3 separate regions of the Homo sapiens genome follow, and regions 1 and 2 are each linked to region 3. The links are contacts of gene promoters, found by promoter capture Hi-C in blood cells and fetal thymus (Javierre and others, 2016). All regions are on one chromosome and are shown on one strand. The core of a region is centred on a gene start or on the middle of the fragment in contact, and the rest is flanking DNA. Distances in the headings are between cores, read along the strand shown.

What was found. Contacts are between HindIII fragments. The CHiCAGO score rates a contact against its expected background, and 5 or more counts as called.
Region 1: a fragment that was not itself captured here is called in contact with the fragment with the promoter of ALDH4A1 in region 3 in 6 of 17 cell types (fetal thymus, erythroblasts, activated CD4 T cells and 3 more); the score reaches 18.3 in fetal thymus.
Region 2: a fragment that was not itself captured here is called in contact with the fragment with the promoter of ALDH4A1 in region 3 in 1 of 17 cell types (fetal thymus); the score reaches 13.1 in fetal thymus.

The regions. Positions count from the first base shown.
Region 1 is chr1:19,594,437-19,597,221 of GRCh38, forward strand. MICOS10-NBL1 (MICOS10-NBL1 readthrough) reads left to right here and starts at 2,543. Exons shown (of 4, transcript NM_001204089.2): 1 at 2,543-2,673. It overlaps MICOS10 (mitochondrial contact site and cristae organizing system subunit 10), which reads left to right and starts at 2,543. Exons shown (of 4, transcript NM_001032363.4): 1 at 2,543-2,673. The coding sequence starts at 2,610. It overlaps MICOS10-DT (MICOS10 divergent transcript), which reads right to left and starts at 2,396. Exons shown (of 2, transcript NR_135054.1): 1 at 2,274-2,396. RefSeq lists an enhancer at 2,336-2,635 and a silencer at 2,756-2,785. The HindIII fragment of the contact is 1,026 bases long and covers 905-1,930 here.
Region 2 is chr1:19,482,248-19,484,990 of GRCh38, forward strand. The region is part of intron 1 of CAPZB (capping actin protein of muscle Z-line subunit beta); the gene reads right to left. It also overlaps a transcript of LOC105376819 not described here. Among named protein-coding and RNA genes, the nearest start is that of CAPZB, 1.9 kb to the right of the region's middle. RefSeq lists enhancers at 1-3, 1,569-2,077, 2,078-2,585, 2,586-2,743. The HindIII fragment of the contact is 294 bases long and covers 1,318-1,611 here.
Region 3 is chr1:18,901,179-18,904,063 of GRCh38, forward strand. ALDH4A1 (aldehyde dehydrogenase 4 family member A1) reads right to left here and starts at 1,377. Exons shown (of 15, transcript NM_003748.4): 1 at 1,284-1,377. The coding sequence starts at 1,345. LOC124903866 (a long non-coding RNA gene) reads left to right here and starts at 935. Exons shown (of 2, transcript XR_007065519.1): 1 at 935-1,074; 2 at 1,632-2,193. RefSeq lists a silencer at 1,144-1,363 and enhancers at 1,444-1,673, 1,613-2,430. The HindIII fragment of the contact is 9,883 bases long and covers 1-1,673 here.

The DNA of each region.
Region 1 (2,785 bases), core at 168-2,667, 690 kb after region 3:
GAGTTCAAGACCAGCTTGGCCAACATGGTGAAACCCCATCTCTACTAAAAATACAAAAATTAGCTGGGGGTGGTGGCACGTGCTTGTAATCCCAACTACTCAGGTGGCTGAGACAGGAGAATCTCTTGAACCTGGGAGGCAGAGGTTGCAGTGAGCCAAGATCATGCCACTGCACTCCAGCCTGGGTGACAGAGCAAGACTCTGTCTCAAAAAAAAAAAAAAAAAGAAAGAATAATTTAAAAAAATAGAGAACTAGGAGAAGGGAAGGGTGGTCATAGAAGTTATCTTGAAGGAAGAGGCTGTCGTAGCAAGATCTGATACAACAGAGTTTTGCTGTCATAGTTGCAAATAAATAGTTGAACGATGCCTGTAATCCCAGCACTTTGGGAGGCCAAGGTGGGTGGATCACTTGAGGCCAGGAGTCAAGACCAGCCTGGCCAATATGGCGAAACCCCATCTCTACTAAAAAAATACAAAAAGTTAGCCAGGCGTGGTGGTGGGCGCCTGTAATCCCAGCTATTTTGGAGGCTGAGGCAGAAGAATTGCTCAAACCCAGTAGGCAGAGGTTGCAGTGAGCCGAGATCGTGCCACTGCACTCCAGCCTGGGCAACAGAGCGCGACTCTCTCTCAATAAATAAATAAACAAATAAATAGGTGAATAAATTCAATTCAGTTCAACAAATATTTCATAGAAGACCCTACTATCCAAGGCATTGTGCTCTGACTGGAAGTATGAAGACGAAGGGGCAACTTCTAGTTCTACTAGCAGATAATATCTACAACCAGATGTTTCAGTACTAGATAGAGAAATCAATGCGGGTAGGCAGGGTAGTGGGACAATGAGAAGGGGAAGGCAGCTCTAAGCTCTATCTGACTAGGCTTCCTAGAATCAGTGCAGTGTTGAAGCTTGGATAGATCCAGTGTATGAATGGGAGTCATTGACAGCTTTTTTTTTTTTTCTTTTGTGATAGGGTATCACTCTGATGCCCAGGCTGGAGTGCAGTGGCATGAACATGGCTCAGTGTAGCCTCCACTTCCCAGGCTCAAGTGATCCTCCTACCTCAGCCTCCTAAGTAGCTGGGACTAAAGGCACACATCACATTAGCCTGGCTAATTTTTTAAATTTTTTGTAGAGACAGGAGTCTCACTATGCTGCCTAGGCTGGTCTTGAACTACTGGCCTCAAACAATCCTCCCGCCTCAGCCTCCCAGAGTGTTGGGATTACAGGTGTGAGCCACTGCTCTCGGCCTTCATTGACAGCTTCTAATCAGAGGCATAACGTGGTCAGATTTCTATTTGTTGGTAGGATGGAAGACTAAAATCAATGACACTAGCCAGTAGGCTGGATATACAATCTCTCTTGATAGCTGTGGGCATTTGGTTTCAGGATCTCGCAGTTACCAAAATGCAGGATGCTCAAGTCCCATATATAAAATGGCGTGGTATTTGCATACAACCTACACACATGCTTACATATCCTTTTTTAAAATTACTTATTTTTTTTTAAAGAGATGAAGTCGAACTCCTAGTCTCAAGCAATCCTCCCATCTCAGCCTCCCAAGTAGCTGGGACTACGGTCGCATGCCACTGCGCTGGCTCCCATATACTTTAAATCATCTCTAGGTTACTTATAATACCTAATACAATGTAAATCCTAGGTAAATAGTTGTACTGTATTTTAAATTTTGCATTATTTTTTATTTGATTCAAAAATGTTTCTGGTCCATGGTTGGTTAAATCCATGGATGCAAAACCCACAGATACAGAGGGCACCCTGTGTATGTATGTGTATGTGTGTGTGTGTGTGGGTGGGTGTGTAAATATATACATGGATAGGAGGCCTGAGGTAGACGTTTTACCTGGAGATATAATTTGGCAGTGTTTGCAATTACTCAGGGAGAGTCTGTACAGTGAAAAGAGAATTGATGGAAGCTTGCGAACCAACAGTCCTTAAACAGCTGGCAGAGAAAAGGCAGCCCTGGAGGAAACCAACAGACAACAGCAGATGGGGAGAAGAGGAAAGAGTGGCGTTACCGGGAGTGAAACGAATAGAGGAGCCAGGGAGGATCAGAGGGAGGGAAAATTGTGTGGAATGCGGTACAGAGGTCAGAAAAGAGTCCATTTGATTTGGCGGTAGGTAATCTTTCCCAGAGCAGTTTCGGTGTTAGTGGTTCAGGCGGGAATTCCAATGCAAGAAACCAGTGAACGAATGAGAGAGTGAGTAGGGAAAGTGAAGGTGAGTACGTTAATGAATGAATAAATCAAGTCTGTACCCTCTCTTGCCCGGGGGATTTCCAGGGCCAATGTCGCACTTTGGTGAGGAGGAAAGGCCTGGTCACGGCTTGGGGTGACGCCTAGGAAACTGTCAGCCTCGCAAACCCATAGGCGCAGCCCCAAGGTCAGGGTCACCTCGAGCCTCCAGACAACTCGTCACCTTGACGACCAACTGAAAAAACCGGAAGGGATGGAAGCAGCGGATCATCTCGCGATATCTGGAGCGTCTGCGCCTGCCTTCCTGACCTGGGACTTGTTTCCAGCTCTCGCGAGACTTTCAGGGGTCGGAGCGCGGGGGCCGGCCGAGAGGAAAGCTGGAGGCGCGGGTGGGGAACATGTCTGAGTCGGAGCTCGGCAGGAAGTGGGACCGGTGTCTGGCGGATGCGGTCGTGAAGATAGGTAAGGGGCTTTTCGCCCCAGCAGGCCCGGCCGGTGCAGAGCTGCTGGCTCCAGGCTGCGCTGCCCAGGAGGAAGGAAGGGAAGCCCCACGGGAGGTCAGGCCTCTCGGCCT
Region 2 (2,743 bases), core at 215-2,714, 580 kb after region 3:
ATAAGCATGCCACCAAAAAGAGGCCAGGTGGGCTTAAATGAACAGGGCTGTATAGACAGACAAGAGGGATGTGAGTTGAACAATGTGTCTTATCCACATCAAGAGACATTAATGTCAACTATGTTGTTTCACCTTGTAACAATACCAAGTTCCCATCAGCTCCTGCCAGGCAAAACCATCTGTGAGCTGGAGCAGCAATTCCTGAGGGGGCCTCCCTAGTCCCCGTTCCTGCTAAAGCCTCACCATCATCATAACTAAGAATAATTCCCAAGTCAGAAACTGAAGCTGTGTAAGGAACGGTGCTCTGAAATTGTACAGCACTCAGACAGTGGTAAGATTATTACCTGCTAAGGGAATGCAAATAAATTCCATTTGCCTATGCATTTTAACTGGGAAGGAGAAACTCATGCCAACAAAAATCATGGAATTCATTCCAAAGTCAAATGCATTTTAGATTCTCAAGTCACTATTTCCCTCAATGGATAACAGAGATCTAGCTGTATTCTCTACCATCAAATCTACTGAAAATGAAAAACATGGTGATCTGAATTCATTTACCTACAATGCAACCTCACACCACCACTTCTGTCCTACGCCAACCATCTACACCGGCTTAATGGTCAGAGTATTCAAATAGGGGATAAACGTAACAATAAGCAGTCAGAAATTACAAGGCTAAGGGATACTAAGAACAAGTGACTGAGAGAATGAATATGAAATCCAAGCAGGTAAGTTCATGGACACAGACACATGCCAAAGAGAACATTCCAAGTGGTTTCTTCCAACGCCAGGTGCTGTTCTAGGCCCCACGGATACAGCTGCGGAAAACACAAGACACAAATCTCTGCCCTCCAAGAGCTCATTCTGGCCCATGCTAAATATGCCTGTATCACCATACAGCTATTTCACTATAAACATGATTTCCTATACAAAGGATCTAAAATACAATACATGGGCAATAAATACTGCTCCTCCCCCCTTGCCATGTTTGAATATCCCATTTTATGTTTTTCAAACGGTATCATTAAACCTTCTGACATACAAGCAGCTTGGTACAATGGGAAGAACAGTTTAGAGCCTGCCAGATGGGCTTCCACTGACCAACAGTGGTTCCTCCACTGGCTGAGCAACACCCTGAATAAGTCACTCCACCTCCTGAGCCTCAGCTGCCTCATCTATAAAATGGGGACAGCCCCAGAAGGGCTTCCTGTGGATGAAAACAGCTTGTACAGGTGAAGCACACCACAGTGACTGGCAGACAGTTCCTCCACCCTTTCCAGCCTTTTCAGATGAGAGCTGAGTACAAGACTCCTGAGAAGCTTCAGGTGTCATGTGCTCCTCCTGGGGGACTGAGGCACTTTCCCATCACCTGGCGAGAATCGCTGCTTCCTGCCTTATACTTTGTCCTGAGTGCACACTCAGGAAACTTCAGCCCACTTTCAAAGTCCTCACCCACCACTGCCCTGGAGAAGTCGTTCTCCATCAAGGCCTGGGGCCAGGCCCACCTCCCCAAACAAGGAGTTTTCAGCCAAAGTTACTGGACAAATCCGAAGGCCTTAAAAGTGGCATTGCCCATGTTTTTAATCAGCATACAGGAAGGCATCAAAAGAAAGCTTAACCCATCTCAACTACTCACCCTCGTTCAGCAGCAACATCCCTTGACTAAACAAGGAACCATGGTCCTCAAAACACTTTGAGGCCCAAAGTCCACATACAAACATGCTCCAAAAATCCCTTGATCCTGTCAGGAAGAAGTTCTCTGGCCCTTCCAACCTAAGTGCTGGGCCTGTCCTGCAGAAGGGTCAAGTGGCAGGAGGGCAGGTCTATCTGTGGGGGCCTATGTGAAACCCCAGGTTCCTCAAAAGTCTGGATAGCATCTGCCTTCTTTACCAAAACAAACACCACGAGCGGAGCCAGCACTCTCCCTAGGCGTTCTGCTCACCTGATCCGAGGGACTTCCATAATCAGCAGTTCCAACCCTTGCAAGCTGACAGTTCAGAGGGAAGGGGAGGCTGCGCCTGCTTGGGTGCATCGTGTCCAGGCCATATGCTGGATCCAGGGCCTGGTGGCCCCCCAAGGCCACGGCCTCACAAGGGCGATTGTGCGTTCATCCTTGTCCTGTGGGCCACCCATCCTCGCCCCTCGGCTCCCACTCAGGCCCGGGCGCCGTGGACCCCGGCCTGCCCTGCAGAATGCTTCGCACGCACAGCACCCACGGCGGCAGCCTCGAGAAGGGCCCGCAGAGCAGCGCGCTGCCTTCTGGGCACACCGATGCCCGCCCTTCCCTCGCTGGCTCCTAGGCGGCCTCCCTAGAAGCGGCAACTGAGAAGGCACAGCACCGGGACCACCCCATCCCTGATGGAGAGCTCCCCTCGCTCCCCAAAGGCTGCAAAGAAGGCGCGCCCCAGGTACAGGGAAGGGGACCCTGGGTCGTGCACCAGGCAGGGGGCAGGACCCTGATGAGAGGCTCAGGGCGGGGACCGAGCGGGGCTGACGCAGGTTACGCTAGGAGTGGCGAAAAGTCCAGGGAAGGGGATCATGGTGGGGAGGGGGCAGTGAGGTCCAGACGGGGGCCATGGGCGGAGAAGAGGAGGTCCAGATTTAAGTTCACAGAGAGAAGAGGAGATTCAGGCTGAGGCCACGGAGAAGAGGGGAAGCAAACCTAGGCCGCTGCAGAAGGGGCTGACCGGGGTCCAGCCTGAGGCCATGGAGAAGGCAAAGGGGGAGGGACAGAGGGAGGCAG
Region 3 (2,885 bases), core at 127-2,626:
GGAGTATGGCAAGTGTGGCCCCAGTCTCAGCCTAGAAGAGGAACCCCTCTGTCCCATGTCCTCTTCCTGCGCCCTTTCCTATCCCCTCTTCACCCACAGAGGACACACAGCAGTGTTGCAACTCACTTGTGCTCAGAGCACCACCATGCCATCCCTTGGGGGAAGGGAGAGGGCCACTGATTAACTCAGAAAGGGCACAGCTCATCAGGAAAGACACTGCCACTAACAGCCCCAGGGGTCAAGCAAACAAACCTCAAATGGGAGGGGGGGCTGATCCACAGGTGGGCAGCCCCACCAGACTAGGAACCCCTCTGGGGCAGGGTCTGTGTCCCACCTACCTCTCCAAACCTAGCTCCGAGCTGGAGGGGCTCTGAGAATATTTGTCATTGAGTGGGCAAGGGTCCAGGCACCTGGCTCCACAATGTCAGGTTTGCAAATCGGGATTTGAAGGGCAGGTCCACCCCTGAACTGCTCCTGGGTTTCTTCATTATTTGGAATAATGACCTGCCTCACAGGAGTGAGAAGTTTAAATAGAGGTGATAATGATGATGATCGTGGCAATAATAATAACCGGGCGCTGCCTTTGTGCTGGGCACTGTTCAGTGCACTCCCCATGTATTAACTCATTTAATCCTCATAAGACACCTGCCAATTGCCCGGCCAGCATTTGGTTCATTATAAGCACTCTATAAATATGATTATTCCACCTACAAGAAGAAAGGAATCCTTTTTTCTGTCCAACATTTAACTTGAAAAAAAAAAAAAAAAACGGGCGGCGGGGTGTGTGGGGAGCGGAAAAGAGAGAGGTAGAAATCCTGGTAGAAGGAGAGGACTCGGGGAATCCGGGGCGGGATGGGGACACTGAACGTGAGACGAGGGTGGGGAAGTGAGATGTGTGGTGTGCTAAAAATAGAAGGGCCCCTCAGGGGAAGCCAGCAAATTGCGAAGATCCAGTATTAGGAGTGAGGTGAGTGACTACAGAGGCTACTTTCCGAGCGTGGGAACCGGCAGGGCCACCGAGGCACCCTACTCGGTCGCAGGATTCGGGAAGAGGGGTCCCCTCGCTAAAGGAAGGTGACTACCTGAGGGAGGAGGCTAAGGGATCTCAGTGGGAGAAAGGCCTGGGTGGGGGTCGGAGGGGAGCCCCTGAGGAACCCGGCGTTGACCGAGGCAGCTTGGGGGTCCGGCAGGGAGGGAGTGCGGCGCGGGGGACGCCCAGTGACTCTCAGGCTCCCGGGCCCCAGGCGCGCGCTCGGGCCGCCCCGGGCCCCGTGCTCACTCACCCGGCCCCGGTCCAGGGGCGGGACAGCAGGGCGCGGCGGAGCGCGGGCGCCGGCAGCAGCATCTCGGGTTAGAAGCGGGGCTGTTCGCTGGATCGTCCGCCCGGGCGCGGCGAGAATGCACAACCCCGTCCAGAGCGCACCACCTCGATCCTCGGGGGGAAACGGATCACCCCGGCTGTCCTCCGAGCTCGGGATCAGCCAAAGTCCCACTATATTTAGCTTCGGCTAATAAAAAATATTTCTAGTGCCATAACGGGGGCATTACACAACACAGGACAAGGGAACCCGAAAGCGAAGTCCTGAAATGCATGCGTTTTCCCCTCCTCTCTTTATGGTATGACCCGGGAGAGAGGGCGTGAACTCTGTCGACCAGTCAGAGTGACACACCAAAGCTTCTGAACCAATCAGCGGGGCGGTCCTGCGGCAGCCTTCCAAAGCGGAGCAGAGAGGGGCTGAATAGAGCCAATGAGATAACCGAAATGGGACACGTGCTGAAGCGGGGCAGAAGGACTCGCTGCGTCCGGCCCTCTGGCGTGCGCCCCGGGTTCGATGGGAGTCCGACTGACTTCTCTCGGGCTGCCGGTGGCTTGTACAAGGCTGGAAACCTGTCCGCTACCAGACTCCTCGACCCCGCAGGGCCACAGCGCGGCCAGCCCCCTGCTTCTTCCCGGGGGCTGCGGCCCCTGGAATGAGCCTGCCTTCCAGCTTCTTGGCCAGGACCCAGCCGCTCTCCACCTACCCTCCAGGCGCGGGGCCGGCCAGCTTCTTAGCTTCCTTGCAGATTACGATCAATGCAAGATAAAACCTGAGCTGGCCAACGCTTAGCTTTTCATTTAAAGCCTTTGGCCGCAAAACCAGTTGTTCCTGAGCCTTTTACCCCCAAGTAAAAATTTCAGCTTTCTTTGCAAAATGTTGTGTGCTTGGTAAACACTAGAATGCTATTTAAAACTTGGATTCTGAAGTCTTCTCTGATGACGAGGTCTCAGGGACCCAATCTATTCCTAAAGTAATGTTACGTTTCCTTACTCTCTGTTCTAATTTGTTTATATTTCTTCCAGCAGCATGAACCGCGCACCTGCTTAGGAGTCAGTTCCCATGCTGATTTTGGTTCCTCAAGCAGGGCACTAGGCAGACTACATATCCTTTCCGGGCCTCAGTTTCCTCATCTGTAAAACGGAAGTAATAGTACCCAACTCACAAAGCCCCCGTGATCTTAAGCCACTTATTTTTCTCCAGATTACACCATTTGAGGTACTTTGGGAGAATGTAAACATTTAAATGAAGAGTAGGAGAGGGAGATTACCTAAATGCCAAGTATTAGGAATGGCAAAAAGCAAATTGGAATTGGTGGCGGCTATTTGTCTTCACCTTTGGAGAAAACCCTAGACAGGTGGGCTCAGTTCACATTTGGGCAATGTTGCCCTGAACATGCCCATTGACAAGAAAAACTAGAACATTGGTTACTGTCAAATCCAGAGCCTGGGAAGGTGACCTCCTGTGGGCACGTTGGAGAGCCTGGAAAAATGGGGGCTTTGTGGTTAAAAGGACATCAGTTCCAAACCAGGCCAAGCCAGTTACTGAGCCTGTGATGTCTCATGTCCT